Regions from separate parts of the Homo sapiens genome. Here regions 2, 3 and 4 are each linked to region 1. The links are contacts of gene promoters, found by promoter capture Hi-C in human tissues and cell types (Jung and others, 2019). All regions are on one chromosome and are shown on one strand. Each heading gives the region's core, a stretch centred on a gene start or on the middle of the fragment in contact. The rest is flanking DNA. Distances are from core to core; before and after follow the strand shown.

Region 1 (2,675 bases), core at 82-2,581:
ACTGAAAATACAAAAATGAGCCGGGCGTGGTGGCGGGCGCCTGTAATCCCAGCTTCTCAGGAGGGTGAGGCACGACAATCGCTTGAACCCGGGAGGCAGAGGTTGCAGTGAGCCAAGATCGCACCACTACACTGCAGCCTGGGTGACAGAGTGAGACACAGACTCAAAAAAAAAAAAAAAAAAAAAAAAATCTGGCCGGGCGCAGTGCCTCACACCTGTAATCCTAGCACTTTGGGAGGCTGAGGAGGGTGGATCACCTGAAGTCAGCAGTTCGAGACCAGCATGGCCAACATGGCGAAACCCCGTCTCTACTAAAAATACAAAAATTAGCCGGTTGTGGTGGCGCACACCTGTAATGCCAGCTACTCCGGAGGCTGAGGAAGGAGAATTGCTTGAACCCGGGAGGTGGAGGTTGCAGTGAGCTGAGATCGCGTCACCGCTCCAGCCTGTGCGGCAGGAGCAAGACTCCATCTCAAAAGTAAATAAATAAATACATAAATCTGAAGGTTCTATCAGACTTCAAAGTTCCTGCCTCAGCCTACTTCAGCATCTTTATCTTGTACCCCACATCTCTACAACCCACCCCCTACTGGTCTCATTGGCCTCCTTTCTGTTCCTGGAAGTGAGTCAAGCTTTCTACCCACAACCCCCACCCCACTCCACTCCAGGACTTGCACTGTTTGTTTAGGTTTTCTTCAGTTGTTGCAAGGCTGGCTCCTTCTCATCTCAGATATCTGTTCTAGATTAATTCTTCCCACCATACTTCTCACCGTGTTTTAATTCCTTCACAGTATTTGTTAAACTCTGAAGTTTTTTTTATTATTATTTCCTATCAAATGATAAGCAGATCTACCTTTAATACCTCATTCACTGACTGAATGGATGAATAAAACTGTCTACTTCTCCAGCACGTGGAGGTCTTGGACAGTACTGTGTTATAACAAAGGCCATCTGTGTTGTGTCGACAGGCCATCGGAACTCCTTTGAGGTATTACACATTTCCTACTTCACTTCCATCTCAGTTTATTACAGAGCCTTTTATACTTCCGGGACAGCAGTGACTTAATACTGAGGCCTCTCAGGGGAAGACCGGGATAACTGAGTCCTGCTTTACCTATCTCGGCTTGCAAGAAACGGTATAGGTGGAGGCCTCTTTCAGTGTATGCCGGCGCTCTAGGTGAACCGAGACATAGAGGTGGAAGTGGAGTAGAAAGACGGGGCCAACCGGAAGGGGAGGGCTCATGGGCGAACCCACCCCTCCAGGCAGGGTTTCGCCCCTCGCCCCGCCCCTTCCCCCGCCCGGACGGCCATGGCCATTCCCGGCATCCCCTATGAGAGACGGCTTCTCATCATGGCGGACCCTAGAGATAAGGCGCTTCAGGACTACCGCAAGAAGTTGCTTGAACACAAGGAGATCGACGGCCGTCTTAAGGAGTGTGAGTGCACCTTTCTTTCCATTTAATCAAGTGCCTCGACTCGCTTCTGCCTCTGACAAAGCAGAAGCCTTTCGCCGAGCCCGGCAACCGAGCCTTAGAGATGACCAGGCCTAGGGCCAGGGACAAGGCGCTTTGTCATCCGGCCCTGAGCTTGTGGAGCAGCACTCCTTCGGGTGTAGAAATGGCCCAGTCCAGCCCGGGTGACAGAACATCGGCGGCCTTGAGGTGAAAATGAAAAAGAAGTAGAGGAGGAGTGGGGAAGTGGGCCGAGGATGTTTCCCAGGTTAGGGTGCAAGAAGGGCAGTCTTGGTGGAGTCCCGGGACTTGGAGAGGGGAAGGCGCTTGAGTCAAGTAAGCTCAAACAAGAGATGAGACTCAGGGAGTCGGCTTGTTCTTGGAGTCGAAAGACGGCCGCGGAGCTTAAGAGAGAAGTGTTCCAGTTGTCATAATAACCCATATCGTCTTGTGTTTCGTGTTGTACTGTATCAGGCATACAAATTTCCCTTACCTCCTGAGTGCTTAACTTTTTTTTCCAGTGCATTTTCATTGAAAAGCATGAGTAGTTTAATTAAATGGAGGACCATAATTACATGATTCTGTGGAGAACTGCATTTGTTGACTTTATTTAGGGTAGAATGTCAGAGAACAATCCACGTGGGTAGGTGAAGAGGTGAGGAAGGGTCTAAGTGATTATCATTCGGATTTGTAGTCGCAAATCCTAAGTGTCAGGGTGTCAATATCTTCTAAGACTATAACTTAAGATGTGCTTAAACAAGTATTGCCGATCAACAAAGTAAAAGTATGGTGCTTTCTCTGTAACATTTTGTTGTTATACATGCCACCTACTCATTACAAACAGCATTATTTCTTTTATGGTTTGAAACAGTGGATGTGAAACTTAGGTAAAGTGAAGTAGACTTACGTAAACAGTAAAGTGAGACGTAGCGACTTAAACACACTAAGATTACTGTTCAATTAAAAATGTTCAAATTGTATTATTTCAGTAAGGGAACAATTAAAAGAACTTACCAAGCAGTATGAAAAGTCTGAAAATGATCTGAAGGCCCTACAGAGTGTTGGGCAGGTAGGTGATGGAGTTTGGGGAATAGGGGGTGATGGTAATTTGCTTTTTTATTTAGCTGTTGCCAAAAAGTAATGCTTTTTATTTTCTTCCTTAGATCGTGGGTGAAGTGCTTAAACAGTTAACTGAAGAAAAATGTGAGTGATGAATTAGCTTAT
Region 2 (2,675 bases), core at 52-2,551, 250 kb before region 1:
AAATAGAGGAGAAAGGAGTAATTCCAAACTCATTCTACAAAGCCAGTATTACCCTGGTATAAAAACCAGACAAAGGCATATCAAGAAAACAACAGGCCAATATCATTGATGAATATCAATTGATGCAAAAATCCTCAACAAAATATTAGCAAACCAATTCAACAATACATTAAAAAGATCATTGATCATGTCCATGTATGATTTACCCCAAGGATGCGAGGATGGTTCAACATACACAAATCAATCAATGTGATACATTATATCAACACAATAAAGGACAAAAACCATATGATCATTTCAACTGATGCTGAATAGCATTTGATAAAACTCAACATCCCTTCATTAAAAAAACCCTCAAAAAACTGGGTACAGAAGGAATATACCTCAACATAACAAAGCCATATATGCCATAGCCACAGCTAGTGTCATTCTGAATGGGGAAAAAGTCTTTTCTCTAAGATCTGGAACGTGACAAGGATACCCACTGTCATGACTATTATTCAACATAGTACTGGAAGTCCTAGCTAGGGCAATCAAACAAGACAAAGAAATAATAGGCATCCAAATTGGAAGGGAAGAAGTCAACTTATCTTTGTTTGCAGATGATATAATCCTATATTTGGAAAAACTAAAGACTCCATCGAAAAACTATTCAAGCTGATAAACAAATTCAGTAAAGTTGCAAGACAAATCAAAATACAAAAATCAGCAGCATTTTTATATGCCAACAGTGAACAATCTGAAAAAGAAATCAAGAAAGTAATCCTATTTACAATAGCCACAAGTAAAATTAAATACCCAGGAATTAACTAAAGAAGTGAAAGATCTCTACGATGAAAACTATAATACATTGATGTAAGAAACTGAACTGAACACACAAAAATAGAAAGATGTCCCATGTTGATGGACTGGAAGAATCACTGTTGTTAAAATGTTCTTAATACCCAAAATAACTACAGATTTAATGCAAGCCCTATCAAAATACCAATGATATTCTTCACAGAAATAGAAAAAATAATTCTAACATTTATATGGATTCACAAAAGACCCAGAATAGCCAAAGCTATTCCTAAGCAAAAAAAGAACAAAACTGGAGGAATCACATTACCTGACATCAAATTATACTATAGAGCTATAGTAACCAAAGTGACATGGTACTGGCATAAAAACAGGCACATAGACCAATGGAACAGAATACAGAATGCAGAAATAAATCTGTACATCTACAGTGAATTCGTTTTCGACAAAGGTTCCAAGAACATACATTGGGGAAAGAATAATTTCTTCAATAAATGGTGCTGGGAAAATTGGATATCCATAGGCAGAATGAAACTAGGCCCCTATCTCTCATCATATACAAAAATCAATTCAAAATGGATTCCAGACGTAAATCTAAGACCTTAAACTATGAAACTACTACAAGAAAACACTGGGGAAACTCTACAGGACACTAGACTGGGCAAAGACTTCTTGAGCAATATTATCCCACAGGCACAGGCAACCACAGCAAAAATGACAAATGGGATCACATCAAGACAAAATGGTCCTGCACAGCAAAGGACACAATCAACAAAGTGGAGAGAGAGCCCACAGAATGGGAGAAAATATCTGCAAACTACCCATCTGACAAGGGATTAATAACCAGAATATATAAAGAACTGATACAACTCTGTATCAGTAGGAAAAAATCTGATTTAAAAAATGGGCAAAAGATCTGAATAGACATTTCTCAAAAAAATACATACAAACAGCAAACAGGTACATGAAAAGGTGCTCAACATCATTGATCATCAGAGAAATGCAAATCAAAACTACAATTAGGTATTATTCCATTCCAGTTAAAATGGCTTTTATCCAAAAGGCAATAACAAATGCTGGTGAGGATGTGGAGAAAAGGGACCCCTCGTATACTCTCAGTGGGAATGTAAATTAGTGCAACCACTATGGAGAACAGTTTGGAGGCTCCTCAAAAAACTAAAAATAGACATATCTTACCATTCAGCAATGTGACTCCTGAGTACATTCCCAAAAGAATATCAGTATACCAAAGAGATATCTGCACTCGCAGATTTATTGTAGCACTATTCATAACAGCCAAGATTTGGAAGCAACCTCAGGGTCCATCAACAGATGAATGAATAAAGAAAATATGGTACATACACACAATGAAATACTATTCCGTCATAAAAAAAAGAATGAGATTCTGTCATTTTTAACAACATGAATGGAACTGGAGGTCATGATGTTAAATTAGATAAGCCAGGCACAGAAAGACAAAAAGCACATGTTCTCACTTATCTGTGGGAGCTAAAACTTAAAACAATTGAACTCATGGAGATAGAGAAAAGGATGGTTACCAGAAGCTGGGAAGGGTAGTGGAAGAGGACTATTGAAAAAACTGGATATCCATATGCTGAATGAAACTAGACTGCTATCTTTCACCATATACAAAACCCAGTACAGCCTCTGGTTGTACTAATTTACATTCCCACCAAGAGTGTACAAGAGGTCTCTTTTCTCCACATCCTCACCAGCATTTGCTACTGCCTATCTTTTGGATAAAAAAAGCCTTTTTAACTGGAAATGGTGGGGAGGGGGGAAGTAGGGATGGTTAATGGGTACAAAAACTAGTTTGAAAGAATAAAGAAGACCTAGTATTTGCCAGTATAACAGGG
Region 3 (2,675 bases), core at 81-2,580, 210 kb after region 1:
TGAAAGAAACCAATATGAAAAGGCTACATACTGTATGAGTCCAAACATATGATATTCTGGAAAGGGCAAAACTAGGTAAAAGGATGAGTGGTGGTGATGAGGAGAGAGGGATGAATAGGCAGAGCACAGAAGATTTTTAGGACAGTCAAACTATTCTGTACAATACCACAACAGTAGATACACGAGTATATATTTTTCCAAGCCCACAGCATGTACAACACCAGAAGTGAACCCTAACATAAACTACTGTCACTGAGTGATAATGGTATGTCAAGGTAGGTTCACCAGTTACAATAAATGTACCATTCTGGTACAGACTTTGAGAGTAGGGAAGGTTGTGCATGTGTGAGGACAGAGGGTATGTGGGAATTCTCTGTACTTTTGCTCAACTTTGCTGTGAACCTACAACTCCTGTAAAAACTACAGTTTATTAATTTCTCAAAAATGGACAAATGATATAAACAATTAAAAAAAGGAACTTAGATGTCCAATAATGATTTAAAAACATATTTAGCTTTGTAAACTAAAACAAAATACTGTCTTTTTCTCTTGGAAACAAAAACAACAAAACAGACCATAATCAAGTGTTAGTGAGGATTTGTGGCAACGGGTTTTCATACATTGCTAGTTGGAATATAAACTGGTATAACCAACTGGGAGACAATTTGACAGTACTCTGAAATGAATTATGTATATATTTAAAACAGCAATTTTACTTCTACTTCTAGGTGGATACTCGAGAGAAATTCTTGCACACACGTACAAAACTTAGTAAGAAAATACCTACGTGGTAATGGCAATAACATATACAGTTTATGGATATATACACACAGAGATACGTGTGTGTGTGTGTGTGTGTGTGTATGTGTGTGTCTGTGTATTTTACAGTACTGGATACACACTGAACTTATGATAGTAGTTGCTTTGTAAAGGGAAGTTAGGATAATGAGACTCAAGAATTTTACCAGTATTACTTTGACTTCAAGTCATATTTGTCATTTGACAAAATGACAAAATATCAACAATTATTAATTCCAGATAATGGGAATTTGGTATTCTTTGTATTTTTCTCTATTTTAATAATAATAATAAAAACCCTGTTTCACTTTAAAAAAAATTTCAAGGGCATTAGATCAAAAAGGCAATGTGAATCTACCTGTATCTCCCCTCCTACATCCCGAATCCCCTGAAATGACAGCAAAAGATATTTAAAAATTGTAGGCGGGGAGGGAAGATGAACATCCATAACAGTGCTAGGAGACAGGAAACTACAGTAAGAGGGTAAATAATGAGTGATTCTTGAAGACAGAAAAAAGTTGGTATTGGTTTAAGGGAAGCCACAGCCCAAACTAAACACAAGAAATGGGTGAGGATTCAGACTCCTCCAAGCTCCAAGCCTACAGGCATAAGCAGCAGGCAGGGCTCTGGGTTAAGAGGTAGGTAGTCTCAGCACCTCCATACTGTCCACAGGTCAGTGCTTGAGGCATTGTACAGGAGCAGCATTTGCCCACAGGCTCTAGCAGTGAGTGTGGGTGCTGACACCAGCAAGGAAGATTGGGTACTCTGGCGCTAGCCCAACTAAAATATTTTCAAATGTTTTCAGCAATATTTAAAACATTTGAAAATGTTGCAGCATTTGCTCTAAGAGTGAAGCAACCTAACTGATCATTAACAGGGAAATGTGGTTATAAATTATACTTGATCTTAGCCAAAAAGGCCAAGAAGTAATTGGATGTAAATTAATAGTACGTCTATACTCTGAATTACAGCTTAAAAGAATGTATAACACATAGAAAGATCTCTAAGACATTACTAAGTTTAAAAAATACATATAAAATGCTCCTATTTATTAAAAAAAATCCGATATGTATGGACAAATAAATGCATAGAAAATCACCAAACTGTCAAGAATGATTACTTAGGGGAAGGGGGAGCTTACTATGTATGTCTATATTCATTGATTCTTTTACAACAGAGTGTATTTATAAATTACTAGTATAATTTAAAAATTTAACATGAATAAAAAACTGCAGTACTTTATTTGGAATTAAAATATGAGAAGTCACTAAATGTATCTTTAACCAAGAATTTCTCAAATAGGAAAAAATACAGCAGAGTTCTGCACTAGTGGTAGTGACAGCAGTTCACATTTTCTCAGATGGTTGAATACTTCCTGTCATATGACATAACTGGGTCAGCCAAAGTAACCCACATCTCATTTCAGAATGCATAAATAGAAATACTACAGAGATGTTCAAATTGTAGACTGGTGAAGGAAGACAACACTCATAGTCATTTCCTTAGGAGCTGTGTCAGGCCTTCAATGGAGGAAGTGACACAATCTGCCTGAATCACTAAAATCAAATAGTGACTTATGTGAAGGAAACATTGCAAAGCCATGTATGTTCCCCTGAAAATAGTGCCTGTTCCTTTAACCTCTCCATAAAAATAAAGTATTAAATATCAGATACAATTCTAGTAAGGAAAGAATCTCTACTAGGTTCTTCCTGTTCCACCTTAACCCAGCATTTATCTTAATATAAAAACTTTAATGAAGTAGAAATTTCACACACATACATATATACAGATAGTTCAGCCCATGCCCCATCCCTTGGGATAAGCTATGTCAGTCATCGGTCATCTGTACATCACATAACTCGTATTTTAAGAAGAAT
Region 4 (2,675 bases), core at 113-2,612, 130 kb before region 1:
TAAACTAGAATATCCAGAAGAAATGGATAAATTCCTGGACACATACACCCTCCCAAGACTAAACCAGGAAGAAGTCAAATCCCCGAGTAGACCAATAACAACTTCTGAAATTGAGGCAATAATTAATAGTCTACCAACCAAGAAAAGCCCAGGACCAGACGGATTCACAGCCAAACTTTACCAGAGGTACAAAGAGGAGCTGGTACCATTCCTTCTGAAACTATTCCAATCAATAGAAAAAGAGGGATTCCTCCCTAACTCATTTTATGAGGCCAGCATCATCCTGATACCAAAACCTGGCAGAGACACAACAAAAAAGGAAAATTTCAGACCAATATCCCTGATGAACATCAATGTGAAAATCCTCAATAAAATACTGGCAAACCAAATCCAGCAGCACATCAAAAAGCTTATCCACCACAATCAACTGGGCTTCATCCCTGGAATGCAAGGCTGGTTCAACATATGCAAATCAATAAACATAATTCATCACATAAACAGAACCAATGACCAAAACCACATAATTATCTCAATAGATGCAGAAAAGGTCTTTGATAAAATTCAACACCCCTTCAAGCTAAAGATTCTCAATAAACTAGGTATTGTTGGAATACTTCTCAAAACAGTAAGAGCTATTTATGACAAACCCACAGCCAATATCATACTGATTGGGCAAAAGCTGGAAGCACTTCCTTTGAAACTGGCACAAGACAAGGATGTCCTTTCTCTCCCCTCCTATTCAACATAGTATTGGAAGTTCTGGCCAGGACAATCAGCCAAGATAGAAAAATAAAGGACATTCAAATAGGAAGAGAGGAAGCCAAATTGTATATGTTTGCAGATGACATGATTGTATACTTAGAAAACCCCATTGTCTCAGCCCAAAATCTCCTTAAGCTGACAAGCAACTTCAGCAAAGTCTCAGGATACAAAATCAATGTGCAAAAATCACAAGCATTCCTATACACCAATAATAGAGAACTCCCATGTATAATTGCTACAAAGAGAATAAAATACCTAGGAATACAACCTACAAGGGATGTGAAGGACCTCTTCAAGGAGAACTACAAACCACTGCTCAAGGAAATAAGAGAGGATGCAAACAAATGGAAAAACATTGCATGCTCATGGATAGAAGAATCAATGTCGTGAAAATGGCCATACTGCCCAAAGCAATATCTAGATTAAGTGCTATCCCCATCAAGCTACCATTGACTTTCTTCACAGAATTAGAACAAACTATTTTAAATTTCATATGGAACCAAAAAAGAGCCCATATAGCCAAGACAATCCTAAGCAAAAAGAACACAGCTGGAGGCATCATGCTACCTGACTTCAAACTATACTACAAGGCTACAGTAACCAAAACAGCATGGTACTTATACCAAAACAGATATATAGACCAATGGAACAGAACAGAGACATCAGAAATAACGACACATGTCTACAACCATCTGATCTTTGACAAACCTGATGAAAGCAAGCAATGGGGAAAGGATTCCCTATTTAATAAATGGTGTTGGGAAAACTGGCTAGCCATATGCAGAACACTGAAACTGGACCCCTTCCTTACACCTTATACAAAAATTAACTCACGATGGATTGAAGACTTAAACGTAAGACCTAAAACCATAAAAACCCAAGAAGAAAACCTAGGCAATACCATTCAGGACATAGGGATGGGCAAAGACTTTATGACCAAAACACCAAAAGCAATGGCAACAAAAGCCAAAGTTGACAAATGGGATCTAATTAAACTAAAGAACTTCTGCACAGCAAAAGGAACTATCATCAGAGTGAACAGGCAACCTACAGAATCGGAGGAAATTGTTGCAATCTATCCATCTGACAAAGGGCTAATATCCAGAATTTACAAGGAACTTATACAAATTTATAAGAAAAAAGCAACCCCATCAAAACATGGGCAAAGGATATGAACAGACACTTCTCAAAAGAAGACATTTATGTGGCCACAAACATATGAAAAAAAGCTCATCATCACTGGTCATTAGAGAAATGCAAATCAAAACCACAATGAGATACCATCTCATGCCAGTTAGAATGGCAATCATTAAAAAGTCAGGAAACAACAGATGCTGGAGAGCATGTGGAGAAATAGGAACACTTTTACACTGTTGGTGGGAGTGTAAATTAGTTCAACCATTGTGGAAGACAGTGTGGCGATTCCTCAAGGATCTAGACCAGTAATACCATTTGACCTAGCAATCCCATTACTAGATATATACCCAAAGGATTATTAGTCATTCTACTATAAAGACACATGCACACATATGTTTATTGTGGCACTGTTCACATTAGCAAAGACTTGGAACCAACCCAAATGCCCATCAATGATAGACTGGATAAAGAAAATGTGGCACATATACACCATGAAATACTATGCAGCCATAAAAAAGGATGAGTTCATGTCCTTTGCAGGGACATGGATGAAGCTGGAAACCATCATTCTCAGCAGACTAACACAGGAATGAAAACCAAACACTGCACATTCTCATAGGTGGGAGTTGAACAATGAGAACACATGGATACAGGGCGGGGAACATCACACACCGGGGCCTGTCGGTAGGTGGGGAGCTAGCAGAGGGGTAGCATTAGGAGAGATACCTAATGTAGATGACAGGTTGATGGGTGCAGCAAACCACCATGGCACATGT

What was found. The method cuts DNA at HindIII sites, captures the fragments that hold promoters and counts their contacts. A contact is called where the count stands out against the background at its distance.
Region 2: a contact is called between a fragment that was not itself captured here and the fragment with the promoter of PSMC6 in region 1, in 1 of the 25 tissues and cell types used here (mesenchymal stem cells).
Region 3: a contact is called between a fragment that was not itself captured here and the fragment with the promoter of PSMC6 in region 1, in 1 of the 25 tissues and cell types used here (mesendoderm cells).
Region 4: a contact is called between a fragment that was not itself captured here and the fragment with the promoter of PSMC6 in region 1, in 1 of the 25 tissues and cell types used here (small bowel).

Annotation. Positions count from the first base shown.
Region 1 is chr14:52,705,869-52,708,543 of GRCh38, forward strand. PSMC6 (proteasome 26S subunit, ATPase 6) reads left to right here and starts at 1,332. Exons shown (of 14, transcript NM_002806.5): 1 at 1,332-1,436; 2 at 2,441-2,520; 3 at 2,615-2,654. The coding sequence starts at 1,352. RefSeq lists enhancers at 883-992, 1,013-1,072, 1,373-1,622, 1,643-1,692. The HindIII fragment of the contact is 7,628 bases long and covers 1-2,675 here.
Region 2 is chr14:52,451,311-52,453,985 of GRCh38, forward strand. All of the region lies in intron 18 of TXNDC16 (thioredoxin domain containing 16), which reads right to left. Among named protein-coding and RNA genes, the nearest start is that of TXNDC16, 100 kb to the right of the region's middle. The HindIII fragment of the contact is 7,351 bases long and covers 1-2,675 here.
Region 3 is chr14:52,916,433-52,919,107 of GRCh38, forward strand. The region is part of intron 3 of FERMT2 (FERM domain containing kindlin 2); the gene reads right to left. The region is part of intron 2 of LOC105370500 (a long non-coding RNA gene); the gene reads left to right. Among named protein-coding and RNA genes, the nearest start is that of FERMT2, 33 kb to the right of the region's middle. RefSeq lists an enhancer at 2,187-2,296. The HindIII fragment of the contact is 5,591 bases long and covers 1-2,675 here.
Region 4 is chr14:52,571,980-52,574,654 of GRCh38, forward strand. The region is part of intron 1 of GPR137C (G protein-coupled receptor 137C); the gene reads left to right. Among named protein-coding and RNA genes, the nearest start is that of GPR137C, 20 kb to the left of the region's middle. The HindIII fragment of the contact is 7,349 bases long and covers 1-2,675 here.